Regions from separate parts of the Homo sapiens genome. Here regions 1, 2, 3, 4, 5 and 6 are each linked to region 7. Evidence: promoter capture Hi-C in 16 types of primary human blood cells and fetal thymus (Javierre and others, 2016). All regions are on one chromosome and are shown on one strand. The core of a region is centred on a gene start or on the middle of the fragment in contact, and the rest is flanking DNA. Distances in the headings are between cores, read along the strand shown.

Evidence for each region. Contacts are between HindIII fragments. The CHiCAGO score rates a contact against its expected background, and 5 or more counts as called.
Region 1: a fragment that was not itself captured here is called in contact with the fragment with the promoter of CNGB1 in region 7 in 3 of 17 cell types (neutrophils, M2 macrophages and M0 macrophages); the score reaches 7.3 in neutrophils.
Region 2: a contact is called between a fragment that was not itself captured here and the fragment with the promoter of CNGB1 in region 7, in 1 of 17 cell types (endothelial precursors). The highest score is 6.2, in endothelial precursors.
Region 3: a contact is called between a fragment that was not itself captured here and the fragment with the promoter of CNGB1 in region 7, in 1 of 17 cell types (neutrophils). The highest score is 5.0, in neutrophils.
Region 4: a fragment that was not itself captured here is called in contact with the fragment with the promoter of CNGB1 in region 7 in 4 of 17 cell types (endothelial precursors, M1 macrophages, M0 macrophages and 1 more); the score reaches 7.2 in endothelial precursors.
Region 5: a fragment that was not itself captured here is called in contact with the fragment with the promoter of CNGB1 in region 7 in 5 of 17 cell types (neutrophils, M1 macrophages, M2 macrophages and 2 more); the score reaches 6.0 in neutrophils.
Region 6: a contact is called between the fragment with the promoter of ADGRG3 here and the fragment with the promoter of CNGB1 in region 7, in 2 of 17 cell types (M1 macrophages and erythroblasts). The highest score is 6.3, in M1 macrophages.

What each region holds. Positions count from the first base shown.
Region 1 is chr16:57,624,166-57,626,865 of GRCh38, reverse strand. It overlaps a transcript of ADGRG1 not described here. Among named protein-coding and RNA genes, the nearest start is that of ADGRG1, 3.1 kb to the left of the region's middle. RefSeq lists an enhancer at 2,195-2,489. The HindIII fragment of the contact is 3,334 bases long and covers 1-2,700 here.
Region 2 is chr16:57,684,546-57,687,245 of GRCh38, reverse strand. It overlaps ADGRG3 (adhesion G protein-coupled receptor G3), which reads right to left. Exons shown (of 12, transcript NM_170776.5): 11 at 1,320-1,603. Among named protein-coding and RNA genes, the nearest start is that of DRC7, 8.9 kb to the left of the region's middle. The HindIII fragment of the contact is 871 bases long and covers 1,002-1,872 here.
Region 3 is chr16:57,595,582-57,598,281 of GRCh38, reverse strand. The region is part of intron 1 of LOC105371291 (a long non-coding RNA gene); the gene reads left to right. LOC107984889 (a long non-coding RNA gene) reads right to left here. Exons shown (of 2, transcript XR_001752212.2): 2 at 135-789. Among named protein-coding and RNA genes, the nearest start is that of ADGRG1, 32 kb to the left of the region's middle. The HindIII fragment of the contact is 8,551 bases long and covers 1-2,700 here.
Region 4 is chr16:57,568,278-57,570,977 of GRCh38, reverse strand. It overlaps ADGRG5 (adhesion G protein-coupled receptor G5), which reads right to left. Exons shown (of 12, transcript NM_001304376.3): 10 at 443-560. It overlaps LOC105371291 (a long non-coding RNA gene), which reads left to right. Exons shown (of 4, transcript XR_933627.4): 3 at 345-503. Among named protein-coding and RNA genes, the nearest start is that of ADGRG5, 27 kb to the right of the region's middle. The HindIII fragment of the contact is 2,988 bases long and covers 1-2,700 here.
Region 5 is chr16:57,643,492-57,646,191 of GRCh38, reverse strand. The region is part of intron 1 of ADGRG1 (adhesion G protein-coupled receptor G1); the gene reads right to left. Among named protein-coding and RNA genes, the nearest start is that of ADGRG1, 16 kb to the right of the region's middle. The HindIII fragment of the contact is 4,737 bases long and covers 1-2,700 here.
Region 6 is chr16:57,666,949-57,669,648 of GRCh38, reverse strand. ADGRG3 (adhesion G protein-coupled receptor G3) reads right to left here and starts at 1,343. Exons shown (of 12, transcript NM_170776.5): 1 at 1,244-1,343. The coding sequence starts at 1,301. The HindIII fragment of the contact is 25,338 bases long and covers 1-2,700 here.
Region 7 is chr16:57,969,699-57,972,398 of GRCh38, reverse strand. It overlaps CNGB1 (cyclic nucleotide gated channel subunit beta 1), which reads left to right and starts at 1,271. Exons shown (of 33, transcript NM_001297.5): 1 at 1,271-1,339. The HindIII fragment of the contact is 12,254 bases long and covers 1-2,700 here.

The sequences.
Region 1 (2,700 bases), core at 30-2,529, 350 kb after region 7:
GGGTTGTCCCTGACATACCACCACCTCTGCCTCAGTTTCCCCAAGGTCAGTCCTTCAGGGCCTGATCAACTGGTAACCCGGGCAGCCTCAGCTGTTCCCCAGGGACCAGGCCCACAGGGCAGCTGTCCCCCCACCACCACCACCACACACACACCCCACAGAGCGTGCTGACCAGAAGGGCACAGATGGAGAGTTGAAGGCACCACTCTCTCTGCAGATGGCTGAAGAGAGTGCGGAGCCAGCTGCCACTCTGGCCACATAGGAGAGGCTTATGGGGCTGCCTGGCTGGGCGGAGTTGGCTGCCCAGCTCTGCCTGCCTCTCTCACCGTCGGACTTTGCAGAGACCTACTATGAGCTAGGGGCAGGCAGGTGAGGAAGCAGGCCCCCAGCTCTGAGTCTGGCTAGAGAGACAAGCCTGGTTCTCATAGTAGCGATACCTGGAGTTGGTATTCAGCATCCAGGGGTCTCTGGGAGTAAAGGGGGAGAAATTCAATGACTTGTTAAACACAACACTATCTGTTATGAGTGCTGATAACAGGACTAATAATCACCTGCTATGTCTGGAGGTTTTATGGTGTAAGATGCTCTGCTTGTACAGATCATTCTCATTTTATCCACACAACCCTGTGGGTTGGGTACCACTTGTATGTTAGAGATGGTCAGAGACATGAAGTAACTTAGCCAAGGTCGCACAGCTTGGACCTGGCTGGGCCTCCAGGTGTGTGGGCTGTAACCAAACACGGGACACCAGATATCCGGCCCCTGCTAGGCACTTCATCTTCTCCTTCTGTTCTCACAACAGTCTATCCCCACTTTACAGAAGGGGAACCGAGGTACAGGGAGGGCTACCCACGCCTTTCTATAACAGCCAGGATCTGAACTAAGCGTGTAGACCCCAGAGCCCCTGCTGGGACCTGAAGGAGAAGAAGGGGGCTTCGATAAACAGAGACCAGCAGGAAGGGCACCCCAGGCAGAGGGAACAGCATTGGCTGAGGTGGAGAGGTAGGGCATGGAGCCATGCTTGGAAGGAAGTGGGATCTAACTGGGCAGCAAGGGGCAGATTCTGGAAGATTTTGAAAGTGTAGAGTTTGGGCTTAAATCAAAGGTACTGGGGAGCCAGAGAAGATGTTTGGGTAGGGAGAGGCCTGATTAGCCCTCAAAATGTGGTCTTCAGACCTACAGATAGCCTGAGACCTGCTGAATCTGAATGTGTATTTTAATAAGATGCCCAGGGGATTCCAGAATTGGAGGTGTGAGAAGCCCTGGTCTAGACGCCAGGGACTTGTACCAGCAATGATGCGGAGGGATGGGCAGAGGAGTAGAGGGGAAGTTGGGTCCGGATGGGGCCTCGAAGGAGGCAGATGGGGGAAGAGCGGGGGAGGAGACTTTGGTCCAAGAGACCAGGAAAAGGGCTGGGACACCCCACCCCCCACAACCCGACAAGTGAAGGTGGGGACCGAGGAGAGGGGGAAGATGTCTGAAACGTCCCTGAAGAATCGGGGCACAGGATGGGGTGCAGATCCGGAAGGCAGAGAAGAGACTGCCCTGTGTGCAATGGAATGGGGGCAGCTCTGTGTCATGTGGGGAAGCCACAGGTCCCCCCTGCTTCCCAAGGCAGCTGGAAACACGTCGTTGGGGCTCAGCAGTGAGGGACTGGGGTCGCCAGGCCCAGAGAAGGTCATGGCATCATTGGCTGGCGACGGAGTCCAGAGATGGTGTGGGGAAAGCAGAAAGCTGAAGGTGCAGGAAACCCTTCGTTTTGAGGGACAGAGGAGAGGGGGCAATGCTGCTGCACCCTCTCTGAGCCCGGAGTCTGTGATCACAGACTCTGGGTTCAGGCCAGCTGGCCTCTACTCCCAGCCGGCCAGCTGGATGACTTGGGCAAGCATCTCTCCATCCATTTATCTCCTCGCCTGCCAAGTGGGGACCAAAATAGCACCTTCTATTGGGCCGATTAAATGAGGCCACATGCGTAAATCTTGCAGCCCAGGCCTGGCAGACAATGGGCACCCCAATGCATTGGCCAGGGCACTGTTATTCAGAGGGGCCTGCAAAGGAGGTAGAGAGGAGGCTGCCGGGGAGGTAGGAGGAGATCTTCAAGAACATGAGAGCCTCAGGACAGGGATAAGGGGTTAGGGCATCCTTATTGTCTGCTGTGACTGAGGCCTGGGGGAGTAGGAAGACATGGTGGGGCTGGGAGGGCTAGGAGGAGGTCTTCAGCCCCTTTTTCTATCTCTAACCCTCTGGCCAGAGCAGCAGCATTTAGTGGGAACCAGCCTAGCAAACAGTGAAGAGCTGTCCCCACCTGTGCAAATGGCCATGAGCAACCACTGCCTGCTCAGAAGTGGGTTTTTTCTTTGTTTTCGAGACAGGGCCTCGCTCTGTTGCCCTTGCTGGAATGTAGTGATGCAATCATAGCTCTCTACAGCCTCAATCTCCTGGGCTCAAACGATCCTCCCACCTCAACTTCTCAAGTAGCTAGGACTATAGGCATGCCCCACCACACCAGGCTAACTTTTGTATTTTTTTGGAGAGACAGGGTCTTGATACGTTGCCCACGCTAGTCTTGAACTCCTGAGCTCAAGCGATCCTCCCACCTTGACCTCCCAAAGCGCTGGGATTACAGGTGTGAGCCACTGCGCCCAGCCTCAGAGGTGGGTATTTTTTAGACAAGAGCAGTTCATATCCAGGCTTCTCCCC
Region 2 (2,700 bases), core at 188-2,687, 290 kb after region 7:
TGAGATAAGTACGGGATTATCCCAATTTCGCGATGAATGAGGACGGAAGGAGCTGAGTGACTTGCTGGGTCAGGGATGGGGCTAGGATTTGGACCCAGGGCTGCCTGGCCCTAGCCACTAAGCCACACATCTCTCATGGGGCGCTGGGAGCCAGTCCTGGTCTTGGGGGCTTATACCCGCTGCATCTAGGACGCCTGGGTTTCTAGTGACTTCCCTGAACAGGTTGAGTCTCGTCACTCCTGTCTTGGCTGTTTCTCTCACAGTCAGACTGTGATGCCTCTCTGGGCTGTGGATGTAAGGAGCAAAGAGAACACATATAAACCATAGCACATGGACTGCTCTTACCCCTTTGCTGGGATCTCAGAGGAAGGGCCCTGCGGGGGCCAGTAACAAATACAGCAAGCATTTCCTTCCTACCTCCATAGATCCCTGGAGATCCCATCCATGTCATGTGGACATCATATCACATGATTCTGCCCTTCTGGTCGCAGCTGATTGGACCAGAGATGGACGATGGACACCCAACTTGCAAGGTCAGGTAGGGTTACGGCAGCCATGTTGGGTAACAATTTGGGGCCATGGGTAGTAAAGGGTAAGTGGAGAGAGAATGAAGGAGTTTCCACAGACACTAGGTGAGAGACTCCATAGCTCCAGGAAAAAGATAGAGAACGTATCTGCTTTGGTTTGGGTGGCTTTTTCTGATTCTGGTAGCAGCTCCCATGAAGGCAGCTGATATGTCTGGGATGTTTGTTGCTTCCAAATCTCATGTCCAAATGTGATTCCCAATGTTGGAGGTGGGGCCTGAGGGGAGGAGATTGGATCCTTGGAGCGGATCCTCATGCATGGCTTAGCACTATCCCCTTGGTGATGAGTGAGTGCTCACTTGGAGTTCATGCGAGATCTCGCTGTTTAAAACGGCATGGTGCCTCCCCACTCCCTTGCTCCCACTCTCGCCATGTGATACGCTGGCTCCCCTTTATCTTCCACCATGATTGGAAGCTTCCTGAGGCCTCACCAGGAGCAGATACTGGTGTTGTGCTTTGTCTAAAGCCTGCAGAACCATGAGCCAATTAACCCCATTTTCTTTATAAATTACCCAGTCTCGAGTATTCCTTTGTATTCTAGTAACACAAACGGACTAATACAGCAGCCAAACTTTGCTGCCCTGGATCCTTGCTCTGAGTATTTGAAATCAACATCCTTGACTTCAGCTAGCCTGAACAGAGTCCTGTGTCTTGCAAACCACCCTCTTCCCCACCTCCCAATACCTCCTGGGACAGACAACACAGCCCATCACCTCCCTGGTGCAGGGGCCTCACCTTGCAAGGAGTTGAAAAGTGCAAAGATGTAGACGGTGGAGAGGCCCAACGGGGTGAAGATGGCCAACCCCCATGTCACACCCACCAGGCTCGAGAGGCCCAGCAGGGTGAGCACCTTCTTCCGGTTCTTCCCCCGCTCCTTGACCGCTGTAGCACGGGACAGGGTGAAGATCTTCCAGACCACCAGGGCCAGGACCACCATGCCAAAGAGGAAGGTGATGAGGAAGTAGCCGTGGACGGTGATATAGAGGGCGTACATGGTTGTCCCTTCACGGAACCAGCATCTGGAGGAGGGGGCAGCTGTGGTGGGACTGGGAGTGGTACCTCTGGCCAGCAAACCCAGGAAGTCCCCTGGCTGAGCTTTTCTGTCTGTGAAGGTGCCTCTCCCATTTCCACCCATCAATCCCTGGCTCTCCCGCTGTGGGAGGGGCCGTCACCTGGCTCCAGTCTGGTGTCTCTTTAATGCCAAAGTGACCTCAAAGACATGTTTCATTTGCCCCATATTACATTGTGAAAAAAACGGAATTAGTGGCCGCCTTTAAAATCAGAAGCTTTGGTATAAACACCTAGATTTCTGCTTCTCCTATAAAATCATACACCTGGCAGCTCTGTGGATGCCCTCCTGAAGGATAGTAACTGACCGCTAATTAGATGGGCTTGTGACTGCCAGTCCGCTGCAGTCCCCACCTGGCCCACTGCCTGCACCTTTGTGACCCCTCCAGCTCCTGGGGCCCCTGCTTTTGAGGCCTGGGGACAGGTCCAAGGCCTCACCAGCTCCTCTTAGCACAGAGCCATGGGCCCAGTGGTGGGTGCCCCATGGATCCCAAGGTGTGAGTCTAGAAACTGAACTCAGCTCCACTGCCCTCTGCACTGCAGGGGCAAAGGGCCTCAAAGAGCATGTTGATCAGTTCCCCCATGGTGCAGATGAGGAGACTGAGGCCCTGGGAGAGATCGGGCCTGCCAAGATCACACACATAGCAGGCAGGGCAGAGCCCAGACTAGACCCAGGGCTACTGTGAATCACTGGGCAGGTGGTGGCCTGAACAAGGACACCTGGCTGGGCAGCAGGTGGGGGCTGAAATCCAACACACCCTCCACTCTCCAGGCTGCGCACCCCGCATGCGGACGGGGTGACCTTCTTTACTTTGCCTCAAGGTGCCATGTGGGCTCGTGTTGGCCCAGGCTCAAGTAAGGCATCCTGCCTCCTGGTCCAGTTCTCCCTCTCCTTTCTCAGGCCCCCTCTCTCATTTCACTTCCCCTCTCTCTCTCTAGGCTTCAGTTTACTTCTCTGTGCCATGAGCTAGCTGGATCTGAGGATTCTTCTGGTCTTGACATATTTGGTCTAGATTTTCCTAGAAATCCCTCCTCTCCCCACCTCTCT
Region 3 (2,700 bases), core at 161-2,660, 370 kb after region 7:
AAAAACCAGAGGAAAAGATAGCAAAAGTTCCTAGGAAGACATAACAATATTAAATTTGTGCCTACAACATAATCTCAAAATATATAAGCAAAACTTAATAGGACTATGGAAGAATCAACAGCCATAATAGAAGATTTTAAGACACCGTTTTCAGTTTAATTTTAAAAACGAGACAAAAGGGTATAAAAGATTTGAAGAACTCTGTTAATAAACTAGACTTAATGAGCATATGTAGAATACTGCACACAATTGTTGTAAGATACATGTTTCAAGCAGAACATTTACAAATTTGGCTCATATTCTGAGCCTAAAACAAATCTTGATAAATTTCTAATTCATGTAATGTTGATCTGACCACAATATAATTAAGCTAAAATCAATAAAAAAAAAACTAGGAAATCCCCATAATGTGGAAAATTTAAAGTCATACTTCTTTATATCACAGAGAAGTTACAATTAAAAACTAAAAACATTTTGAAGTGAATAATAATGAAAATATCATATATATCAAAGCTGGTAGGAAATTTTTCTAAAGTTAATACTTACAGGAAAATATATAGCATATAATAGAAAAGAGTAAAGACTTAAAATTAATGAGCTAATCATCCATTTCAAAGAGCTTAGAAAAAGAATAGTAAATTCAACCCCCCCCCAAAAAAAGTATACGGAAGACCAAAGCACAAGCTAATAAAATAGTAAGCATACAATTAAGAAAATGAACAAAAATCAAAATTGGATCTTTGAAGAGATTAGTAAAATTGGCAAACCTCTGGAGAAATAACGAAGACACTAGAAAAGAAAAGCACAAATAACCTATGTCAGATAGAAAAAGGAGAACATTATTATGACCATAATTATATAAAAAGATAATATTGTGAACAACTTTATGCCAATAAATTTAAATTTTATAAAAAGCCTTAGAAAAGCATTGCTTACCTAAATTGACATAAGTAGAAATAGAAATTCTGAGCAGTCCTAGACATAGAATTTGTATTTATACTCAAAAATCTTCCCACAGTGAAAACTTAAGGCCAGGCAGTTCCACTGGCAAGTTATACCAAACATTCTAGGAATAAATAATAATTCCAAGTTGGCCCCAAACTCTTATGAAGACTCAAACTTGTTTTATGAGGCTGGCATACTCTTGACACCAAAACCCAACTAGACAGTATGAGAAAGAAAAATTACAGGCTACTCTTTCTCAAGAACATAGATGCAAAAATTCTTTTAAAAAATTAGTAAACTAAATCCAGTAACATATAAAAGGATAATGTTAGGTTTAACAAATGCAATACATATTTTACATTACCAAAAAAAGTAATGTAATTCATGACATTAAAAGATCAAAGTAGAAAATTCTAATAATGATCGCAATATATGCAAAGAGATGTTTGACAAAATTCAACATTCATTCATGATTTTAAAACAAACAAAAACCCTTAGCAAACTGGAAACAGAAGGGAACTCCCTAAATCTGATAATATCTGATCTAATATACAGGTATATGAAACACTACAACAGATAGTATACTTTCAGGTGAAACTGTTAAAAACTTTTCCTTGGAGATTGGCAACAAGATAAGGAAGCTCACTATTACCACAGCTGTTAAACTCTTGTTCTGTAAGACCTGGCCTGTGTACCAAGGAAAATAAATAAAATAAAACATACAAGGATTGGAAAGATAAAAATGAACTTTATCATTCACGGATGATATGACGAGTATATGAAAAATGCAAAGCGATCCACAGATAAACTATTATATTCAATGAGAGAGTTTAGCGAGGTTGCTGAATACAAAAATCAATATTAAAACTTCATTGTGAGGCCAGACATAGTGGCTCATATCTGCAGTCTCAGCACTTTGGGAGGCTGAGGCAGGTGGATCACTTGAAGCCAGGAGTTCAAGACCAGCCTGGCCAGCATGGTGAAACAGCATCTCTACTAAAAATACAAAAATTAGCTGAGCATGGTGGCATGTGCCTGTAATCCCAACTACTCAGGAGGCTGAGGCACAAGAATCACTTGAACCTGGGAGGCAGAGGTTGCAGTAAGTCAAGATGGCACCACTGCACTCCAGCCTGGGCAACAGAGTGAGACTGCATCTCAAAAAAAAATAACAATTATGTAAAATTATATAGTAGCCATAAGAATCAGGAAATGAAGATTTTTAAAAAATCACTGCAATAGGCAGCCTCTAAGGAAGTCTCCCAGTGAACCCTACCTCCTGGTATTCACACCTTTGGGTAATCTCATCTTCTTGTATGGGCTGGATTTAGTGCCTCACTTCTAATGAATAGAATATGGCAGAAATAATGGGATGTCTCTTCTGATATTAGGTTATAAAGAGTGTGGCTTCCATCTTGAATACTATCTCTCTCTCTCTCTCTCTCTCTGATACTATCTCTCTCTCTCAGATCACTTGCTCTGGGTGAAGCTAGCTGCCATGTCATGAGGCAGCCCTGTGGATCACCTCCACAGTCAGGCCCTCAGATGAGACCTCAGCCCTGTCCTCCAACTTGACTGAAACCTCATAAGAGACCTTGAGCCATTGCCACTTAGCTAGGCTACCCCTGGATTCCTGGCCCACAAAAATGGGGAGATAAATTTTGTTGTTTTAGCCACTGAGTGTTGGAGTGATTTGTTACATGGCCATGATAACTAATATGACCATCATTTATAATACTTCAAAATATATCAAGT
Region 4 (2,700 bases), core at 131-2,630, 400 kb after region 7:
GCACTCTTGTCCGACTAGGAGGACTTGAGAGGCCTGGCAGTGCCCAGGGCAGGTCGGGAGGAGTTGGAGCCTGGGTAGGTGCAGCAAGGTGGTCTGCAGGGGAACAGAGTCAAGTGCAGGCTGAGCCAGACCCTCAGGGCCTGGGCACTGGAGGGCAGGGCAGGACAGAGGAGGCGGGAGGCCCGGCTGCCCTGGCAGGTTGGCGAGCAGACGCTGGCTTCGTAGACTTCACCAGCATAGAACACAAGGCTGCCTCTGCAGGAGACCTGGATCCATGGAAGGGATGTGGTGGAGCCCCCTGCAAACTCCCCTGTCTAAGCCCCAGCTCCCTCTCTGCCCCACAGCCAGTGCTTTGCCTACAGGATATTCCATTTGGAGCCCCAGGCCCATGTGGCCCTTCTGCCAGAGCCAGGGAGCCCACTGCAGCCCTGAGGGCACTCACATGGACATGTTCTGGAAGCCTGTGCCATTCTCCCAGCTGTCGAAGACGGGGATTGTGCAGGGTCCGTATACCGAGCTCTTGACAGAGAGGGAAAGCAGCACCAGGAGGGCTGGGGCCCCTGAGGGGTGGGACAAAGGCTCAGGAGATGTGGGAGAGGGCTGACCCTCGGTCCCTGGGGCGGTCCCTGGGGCTGCTGACACAGAATTTCACTGGTCAAGGGACAACTGAGAGGAGACTGTTGTGAGCCCCCAACTTCAGAGCAATGAGCCTGGTGGTTTGGAGGAAGCTCTCCTCCAAGATGATGTTAGTGACGGCTCTACGATGGAACAGTGGTGGAGGGAGGAGTGGTCACACTGGGAAGGTGGTGGTGGGGAGCAAATGGGAGGGAGGACTGGGGAACTGCTGAGGAAATAGAAATAAGCAAGAAAGGGGCAAGGACGGTGATGAAGGTACCAGTGATGGTGCTGCTGGAGATAGAGAAGGTGGAGGAAGTGATGATGGTGGAGATGGAGGTGGAGTAGGTGGTGATGGTGGTGAAGGAGGTAGAGAAAATGAAGGCGGTAATGGAGGTAGAGGAGGTGATGATGGTGCTGATGGAGGTGGAGGAGATGGAGGTGATGATGGTGATAGTGCAGGTGGAGGAGATGATGGTGATGACAGAGGTGGAGAAGATGGAGGAGGTGACGGTGATGATAGACGTGGAGGAGGTAATGATGATGATAGAGGTGGAGGAGATGGAGGAGGTGATGGTGATGATGGAGGTGGAGGAGGTGACGATGGTGATGACAGAGGTGGAGGAGATGGAGGATGTGATGACGATGGTGATAGAGGTGGAGGAGGTGATGATGGTGGTGACAGAGGTGGAGGAGATGGAGGAGGTGATGATGGTGATGATGAAGGTGGAGGAGGTGATGATGGCGATGATAGAGGTGGAGGAGATGGAGGAGGCGATGGTGATGATGGAGGTAGAGGAGGTGATAATGGTGATGATAGAGGTGGAGGAGATGGAGGAAGTGATGGTGATGATGGAGGTGGAGGAGGTGATGATGGTGGTGATAGAGGTGGAGGAGATGGAGCAGGTGATGATAGTGATGACGGAAGTGGAGGAGGTGATCATGGAGGTGATAGAGGTGGAGGAGGTGGTGATGGAGTTGATGGAGGTGGAGGAGGTGGTGATGGAGGTGATGGAGGTGGAGGTGGTGGTGATGGAGATGATGGAGGTGGAGGTGATGATGATGGAGGTGGAGGAGGTGATGATGGAGGTGATGGAGGTGGAGGAGGTGGTGGTGGAGGTGAAGGAGATGATGGTGGTGGTGAAGGAAGTGGAGGAGGTGGTGGAGGTGGAGGAGGTGATGACGATGGTGATGAAGGTGGAGGAGGTGGTGATGGAGGTGGAGGAGGTGATCATGGTGGTGAAGAAGGTGGTGATGTACGTGGAGGAGGTGATGATGGTGGTGATGAAGGTGGAGGAGGTGATGGCGATAACGGAGGTGGAGGAGATGGTGATGGTGGTGATGGAGGTGGAGGAGGTGATGGTGATGATGAAGGTGGAGGAGGTGATGATGGTGGTGATAGAGGTGGAGGAGATGGAGCAGGTGATGATGGTGATGACGGAGGTGGAGGAGGTGATCACGGAGGTGATAGAGGTGGAGGAGGTGGTGATGGAGGTGATGATGGTGGAGGAGGTGGTGATGGAGGTGATGGAGGTGGAGGAGGTGGTGATGGAGGTGATGGAGGTGGAGGAGGTAGTGATGGAGGTGACAGAGGTGGAGGTGGTGGTGATGGAGGTGATGGAGGTGGAAGAGGTGATGATGGAGGTTGAGGAGGTGATGATGGAGGTGATGGAGGTGGAGGAGGTGGTGGTGGAGGTGAAGGAGATGATGGTGGTGGTGAAGGAGGTGGAAGAGGTGGTGGAGGTGGAGGAGGTGATGATGATGGTGATGATGGTGGAGGAGGTGGTGATGGAGGTGGAGGAGGTGATCATGGTGGTGAAGAAGGTGGTGATGTACGTGGAGGAGGTGACGATGGTGGTGATGAAGGTGGAGGAGGTGATGGCGATAACAGAGGTGGATGAGATGATGATGGTGGTGATGGAGGTGGAGGAGGTGATGGTGATAATGAAGGTGGAGGAGGTGATAATGGTGGTGGAGGAGGTGGAGGAGGTGATGGTGATAATGAAGGTGGAGGAGGTGATAATGGTGGTGGAGGAGGTGACGATGATGATGATGGAGGTGGAAGAGGTGATAAAATTAGTAACA
Region 5 (2,700 bases), core at 17-2,516, 330 kb after region 7:
CATTTCCTCAGAGGATGGAGGTGGAAGTTGAGTGGACAGGACCTGGACGGCTCTGGGATTAACCCTTCCCGGGCAGGCGCCTCTCTGCTGTCTCCTGCCGGGAAGACCCACGAACCTGGCCATCCACTGCTTCCTTCTTCCCTTTACACACAGTGACCACTGCCCGCCCCCGAGCACAGGCATCCCACCCACAGACCTTTGCCCCTTGGTGTCCCTTTGCCTTGGATAGCACTTAGCCCCGTGACATTCCGCTCATCTTTGAGACGAGCTAAGACAAGTCCTCCCCATGAAGCCTCACCTACCCGTCCATTCCTTGCCAAAATTAACGCATGTTCCTGCTGGCCCACAACCCACCCTCAACACAACACGCCCCCCATTGCCACAGGCGCTCACATCAGAGGCTCCCAAGCCTGCCGGTGGGTCAGACCTTCCTCTGGGAGTGAGCTGAAATGCAGATTCACAGTCCCGGCCCAAAGAGGGTCTGATGGGGTGGGCTTGGGAGCTTGGCTTTAACAAGCATCCCGTTGATGGACATACTGCAGGCTTGGGAACCACGGGCTTATGAACCAGGGAAAGGCACCAGCAGCCCTGGTTTAGAGATGGTCAGAGAGGGGAGGGACTGGCCCCGCATCCCTCAGCTGCTAGATGGTAGGGCCTGGACTCGGGGCCAGGGCAGCCTGCGTTCCAGCACTCTCTTCCCTGCCCTGTGACGCAGACCCATCAGGCTCCTCTGTGGCTCCCCCAGCATTTAGCGGGGCCCTGGAAGGGGCTTCCTGAAAGACATCAGGAGAAGGGCAGGCATCAGGTTGGGGGGTGGTGGGGTGGGAAGGGAGCCAAGGAGGGAGGAACGAGGGAGCCCCGGAGGCAATCTCCAGGTTCCAGCCTAGTCTTGCCCACCTGGAGGCCTTCCCCTTAAATGGGCCCTCGCTGGGAGAGGCAGAGGGGAAGACCCCCCCAGCTCAACTTCCACTGCCCTAGCTCCCCTCCCGTCCGCAGCTGCTCTCCTGTGGGCTGCTGGGGCACGACACTGAGCTGCTGAGCCTTTGGAAGCAAGGATTTGGCCCAGGGGGTCGGGCGGCAGGGTGAGGATGAACTCCTGCGAGTTACACAGGCATGTGGGTGTGTGTGCGTGTGCATGAGTGTGTGTATGTGCATGAGTGTGTGATGAGTGTGTGCGCCCATGCATGAGTGTGCATGTGTGTGTGCATGGGGGTGTGTGCCCATGCATGAGTGTGTGATCAGTGGGTGCCCGTGCATGAGTGTGTGTGTGCATGAGTTATGAAGTGATGAGTGTGTGTGCCCATGCATGAGTGTACATGTGTGTGTGCATGGGTGTGTGTGCCCTGCATGAGTGTGATCAGTGTGTGCATGTGTGTGAGGAGTGATGAGTGTGTGCCCATGCATGAGTGTGCATATGTGTGTGTGCATGGGTGTGTGCCCGTGCATACGTGTGATCAGTGTGTGCCAGTGCGTGTGATCAGTGTGTGCCCGTGCATGTGTGTGCTTGTGCATGAGTGTGTGAGGAGTGTGTGATGAGTGTGCGTGCCCATGCATGAGTGTGCATGTGTGTGCGCATGGGTGTGTGCCCTTGCATGAGTGTGTGATCAGTGTGTGTGCTTGTGCATAAGTGTCCGTGTGTGCATGTGTGTGCCTGCGCATGTGTGTGATGAGTGTGTGTGCCCATGCATGAGTGTGCATATGTGTGTGCATGGGTGTGTGTGCCCGTGCATGAGTGTGTGCATGTGCATGAATGTGTGAGGAGTGTGTGACGAGTGTGTGTGCCCATGCATTAGTGTGCATATGTCTGTGTGCACATGGCTGTGTGCCCGTGCATGAGTGTGTGATCAGTGTGTGTGCCCATGCATGAATGTCCTTGTGTGCATGAGTGTGTGCCTGAGCATGAGTGTGTGATGAGTGTGTGTGCCCGTGCATGACTGTGCATGTGTGTGCATGAGTGTGTGTGCATGAGTGCGTGTGCCCGTGCATACACAGGGATGCATGGGGCCAGGAGGAGAAAGCAAGAGAAGGCGGGGAGCTCCTCAGAGGAACAGACTTCAAAGCTGGGAAGGGGACAGGGAGGGCGGGGCACAGTGCAAAGAGCAGGGCTCTTGCAGGTGTTTCCTCCATGGTGGGTGGCGTGGCGTCTGAGAGGACCCTCCCTCCAACGGTTTCCAAACTTTTTTAATAAAAGTAAATCTTACTTGGAAATAGCATGTACCCAACAGCTCAAAGTAGACACCCCTGTCAGACCCAGGTGGCACTCAGGGCTACGCCCCACCCCCAGCCCAGTCCCCCCACCCCTCAGCCGCACCCATGGGTCCTGGGATAACAGCTTGCAAAGGCAGAAGCACTCTCCTCCCCTATTCCCACTCCCCTCCCCCATTCCCACTCCCCAAGTGAGTGACGGAAGTCCAAGCTAGGTGACCACAGAGAGCTCCCCAAGAGGGGTATTCCAGGATCACTGGCAGAAGCAGAGTGACTTCAGTTTTCAGGAATTTTCCTACAATAAAGGAGAATAAAATGAAGCAAGCTGCCTGCCTCGGAGGCTGGCAGGTGCCCAGGCCTGGCCCACTCACTGCCCAGGGTGAGCCTCACACTCTTACACCAGACCTGCTGGACACCCCCCACCCCCCATACCGCCAGCTCAGGCCTCACTGTCCCCGTGGCTTCTGGTCCAACCAAGTGCTTGAGCCACAACAC
Region 6 (2,700 bases), core at 94-2,593, 300 kb after region 7:
TGTGCAGACCTTCCTGTGTGTAGACCTCTCAGAGCTCCTTGCTCAATCAAATGGCTGCTGCTCTGCCCCAACCAGAGCACCCACATCACCATGGGGGAAACAGCATCACCTGGAGGAGGCTTGAAGGCCCAACCAGCGATGACAGCTGGGACCTGAGGACGCCCATGAGCCCTGGTCACAGCTGCCATCGGTGGCTCCGTTCATTCATCTATCAAGGGCTGCCTGGTGGCCTGCTCTGTACCAGGGCCTCCCGGGGCCACTAGGAGGACAGTGCTGTCATCTCCCACCCTTTTTTGAGCCAGGGACTGATTCACTCCACTGAATCTTCCAATGTTTGAAAAGAAGAGGGTTATTTGAAGACCAAATAAGTTGATCTATGTGGCCAAAGTCACGCGACCACACGCTGGACACACAGGGAGATGGACATGCAGGCCCCTCACCGAGTCAGGAGCAAAAAGAGAGTGGCCTGCAAGGCCCTGAGACAGGAGCACTGAGGAGGGAGCACTAACGGGGGAGCACCTCCCTCTGTCCGAGAGGGTTGCTAAGACGCCACAGAGGCCAAGAAGGGTAAATGGAGCTGGCTAAGTGGGCAAGGGGTAGGGGGACAGCTTTCCTGGGAGAGAGGCCAGCAAAGGCAAGGCCCGGGCACTTCCATGGCCTCTGGAGACGCACCATGTGTTTGTGTGTGAGACGGGAGAGTGACGGGGAGGAGTGTGGATCCTGGCTCAGGCCACTGAGGACCAAGAGGTTGTGGCTGAGACTGGGAGAGGGAGCCGGTGTGGGGTGACATGTGCGGGAGGAGAGGTCCAGAAGAACGAGGTGACAGACCTTCCTGGCCTCAGCTTCCAGAGTGTCTGAATCCCGTCCCCAGGATCTCACAAGCCAGCTGGAGAATTGCCTGCCCGGGGCCAACCCCTGTCTCAGAGCCAGGCCTGTCAGGGAGACACAGCCCAGGTTGGGGAGTCAGGGAGCACCCTCCGACCTCCCCTATCTCCAGGGCACTGTGGAGCAACAAAGGGAACCTGAGACCAGTCCTGAGCAAGGTTTAGTGGAAGGACAGGACTGACCCAAAGGGACAGGGCTAGAGAAGGTGCTGAGGCGGCCACGGGGGGTATCGGAGGACACATCCCAGACACCCCAACTCCTCACCTTCTCCAGTCCCTGCGTCTGTCCCTGGATCCCTCCCTCGGCAGGGCAGGGTCGGCCCAGCGTGGCAGGAGGGGATGAGGTGCCAGCCACTCACCTGAGGTCGGGAGCAGGAGGAGCAGGAGCAGGGCCCCCAGGCCCCTGGGCGTCGCCATCCTTGGCCAGCCTTGCCCACGCCAGGAGCTCTGTGGCTGTCTGGCCCTCTGGCCCCAGGCTCTGCTGAGCTGGCCTGCCCCCACCCTGCAGCCCCACCACTCTGGCTTCCTGTGTCCTCTTTCTCACCCTTCCTGCTCGATGGCGCCATTGGTTGGGTTGTGAAAGGTGAGTGTGGGGAACTGGGCAGTGCTCCCAGTCTCACCGCACCCTGGGTCCACCTGCAGAGGGAGCTGCTGAGCCCACCCAGGTATGTGCCCCCGGGGCCCCACTGGGGTGGGATCTACGGGGCTAGGGGCTGGGTGGCCACAGGGGCCTGGCTCAGAGCGGATCCCTGGGAACTGTGGTGAGCACAGGCTTTGGAGTCAGGCGCACCTACTCAGACCCCTCCTCTCACAAGCTGGGAGCCTCTCTGAGCCTCAGTTTCCTCCTCTGTAAAGTGAAGATGGCAATGGGGCTGCCTCCTAAGGCTGTGTCAGGGTTTGATGAGACCTGCAACAAGCTGGGCACAGAGCCTGGCTCTGGGCATGAGGACGAAGACCCAGATGGTGCCTATGGCTTGAACCAGGCTGGAGGGTGTGGGAGGAGAGCAGGAGCTGGCCCTGCAGCCTGAGCTTCCCCCACCAGCCTGGATAACAGGACGGACCCAGAGGCAGGGTAGCGGGAAGACAGCAGTGCGGCCCCGGGGGCTGGTCAGGCCTGAGCTAACATCCATCCTGGCCACTTCCTGGCCGGGTGACCTTGCATGCACTGTCTGTCACCCTGAGCCTCCCGAGGTGTGTGATGAAATCATGGATGACGCAGGCGGAGCCGCCTGTGGCCATTACATCATTTCTGATCATCAGAGCTGTGAAATTGTTGTCTTTACACCCCAAATGGTCACTGATCAGGTGGGAGGTGGGGGTGGCAAACACTCCTGGGCTTCAGCCTAAAGGAATTAGGGCGCCAGCCACTCGGGCCAACTCTGGAGGCCCCACGGATGCACTGTGCATGAGGCCATGGCCACTTGGCAATTGGAAGGTGAAGGGCATCCCACCAAGGTGTGTGGTTGCTGGCATCCCCCTCTGGCCCACGGGGCTGGCACTAGCCCTACTCAGCCTTGGGATTGAACTGGGGAGCCGCTCAGCCCCTGCTGGCCTCCATTTCCTCCTCCTCCCACTCAGTGTCTCCTGCTGAGCCCTCTGGGTCTGGGAAGGGGTAGGGAGGGGATGTCAGGGTCACTCATGGTGTGGGAGCAGGTGGGAATTCAGCATGGAGCAGCAGGTCAGAGCCCAGGGCTTCCTGAGCCCCAGAAACTTCCTCTGCAGGGAGGGCTGCGAAGGCAGATGAATGGCTGGGCCTGCCACTGCTCCACACCTGGCCAGCCTTCTCCTGGAAGATCTGCAGACCTCCCTCCCAGCT
Region 7 (2,700 bases), core at 22-2,521:
TCCCCTGCACCCGTTAAGCTCCAGGCTCCCCGGTTCCCATTCTGCTCCTCAAGGCTCATTCCAGCCTCAGAACCTTTCTCGTTGCAGTGTCCTTGGCCTGGAGCACCACTCACCCAGCTTTTTTCACAGCTGAGTCTTTCTTACTTTTCATGTCTCAGTTCAAATATACATCCACCTCGTCATAGGGGCCTGCCTACCTGCCCCTACTGCCCTCCACAACATGCTTCTGCCCTGTTTGTTTCTTTTATGGCACTTAGCATAATTTGCAATATTCTTTATTTGTCAGTAATCTCCTCCATTGGAATGTAAGCTCCATGAGGACAGGGCCTATGTCTGTCTTGCTCAGTGTGCCAAGGCTGGCACACTGCCAGGCACAAAGGAAGAGCTCTAGGCCAGGTGCAGGGGCTTACATCTGTAATCCCAATACTATGAGAGGCTGAGGCAGGAGGATTGCTTGCATCCAGGAGTTTGAGAGGTTGAGGCTGCAATGAGCTGTGATTGCACCACTTCACTTAGCCTGAGTGACAGAGAGAGACTGTGGCTTAAAAAAAAAAAAAAAAAAAGGAAAGGAAAGGAAAGGAAGAACTCTAGAAATGGTGCGGATAATTAAGTCAAGTCCTGCCCTTTGCCAAATATCCCTCAGGGCCACCACACTGAGCCCCTCTTCCTTGGGCCCTGTCCCTTGCACCCTCTCCTCCTAGATCTCTGTATCCCTTCAAGTGTCCAGCCTCAGTTCACAGGGCAGGTCAGATGCCTCAGTCATCTGCCGGGTCTTGGATCCATCCTCAAGGCCCAGGCCTGGGACACAGCCTTTCTGGCAGAGCCCAAGGCAGGGCTGCTGAGACCCTGCCCAGAGAAGACTCTAAGCCAGAAAGAACCTGCCTGCGTCCTGGCCTGGGGGCTGGAGAGTTGGGGTACACCTCTTGCCACCGCTGAGTGGGAGCTGACAAGCCCCTGCTACCATGAGGAGTCTCCAGGCATCACATGGGAACTCCAAGCTGTTATTCTCCCATCAGCCACTCCGTGTCTTGGCCAAGGTGTATGGGAAGCCAGGCCCCTGGTAAGCCGGGCAGGTCCCCTGGCAACCCATGGTGCTCCAAACCTGGGCCATGCAGGAGCCCTTCCCTGGGGCCCACATCCTTGCTGGACCCTGGGAGTTGGGAGGTGCTGCTGGTTTCCTGGGCATCAACAGCCTCTTTTCTCCCCCTCCCCCATTCAGCACCTGCTAATCCTTTGCACACGGCCCAGCTACTGCCAATTAATCTTCCTTGTGTCTGAGGGGCCAGCTACGAGTGGCAGCAAGAAGGCAATTCCTGGCTGGCGGTTGGCATCTAAGCAGGTAACTCAGGGTGAGGTGGAGGCTCGGTGGGACCCCGAGGGGATCCCCATGTTCTCCCTCTAGAAAGGCATTTAGGTAGGACCAAACTGGCACGGTGGGAAACCTGTGGCTTCCCTCTATCTGGTGGAGCTTGGACTTTAGCGGGCATCAGAATTTTCAGGACAGCTTGTACAATGCAAATTCCTAGGTCCCCCAGGAGGACTTGGGGGACCTAGGAATCTATATTTTCACTAGCTCTCCAGAAGACTCTGGAAATGCTGGTGGTGCAACACCATGGCTCCCCGAGCTGCCACTCGTGGGTCCCCCTTCCCACCTGAGCCTCCCTCATCAAAGTGCAGTCAGCAGGGACACGGGTGAAAGATGGGAGGGACCTGCAAAAATTCTCATTTAGGAGGAAAAAGAAAAATGGGGGATCGGGGAGGCTTCCTTAGTCATTTCCAGAAGGTTTAGAAATGCAAGCGAGAATTGCTGCCTGCTGGGAAGGGTCTACAGGCCTGGCCCGCGGAAGAGGCCAACACTCGGCAAATGCCACGACTACCTGGGAATACATGTGGGGCAGCTGGAATCGGGCAGACCTGAGTGTAAACTCAAGTTGGCCACTGCCGGCTGTGCTGCTTCAGGCGATTCTGTTGACCTTTCTGTGCTACATAATGAAAATTCTTATTTTACTGAGTGCAGGGGCTGGGCGGGGCGTGGTGGTGAGAGCGAGGATGAGTATGATCATGGGTAGAATGCACTTAGCTCAGCCCTGGCTCTCGGGGCTGCCTGGGGCTGGCTGGGGTCAGTGAAATCTGCTATCCCAACATGTGAGCTCTGGCAGTCCCGACCTGGGAAAACATTGTGTCTGTGCCCCCACCTTCAGGGAAATGGAAGACCAGAGGGGTCATGTCTGGCCCAAGTTCATTTTTTGGGAGGCTGAGCCAGGGATCTGACACTTAGAGCTGTGTTCCCACCACAGCCTCTCGTGGGAGAGGCTGGGCTGCTGATGCCAGAGTGGGAACAGAGGTCAGGGCTGTAAGTAGAGGACAGGCAGCACAGCCGTGGGCTCTGGGGAGCTGGGCTTGGGGGCAAGGATCCTGGGCCTGGGCTGCCCTCTTCAGCTGGGGCCAGGGTCCCTGGCAGAAAGGGGCATACAGACTCTCTGCCAAAGCCCGGGTTGCCCATGGCTGGGAGAGGGGTGGGGCACACTCATGTGGGGCAAGAACACATCTAGGGCTAGGAGTTAGCACACACTGACCTGCACGCTGCGCACTGGCCAGGCCATCCTGCAGGGGTTCAGTCATAAGGGCTGGGGCTCCCCATTCCCCAAGGAGAAATCAACCAGAAACAACCTGTACTTAAGGTAGGACTGAAATAACACA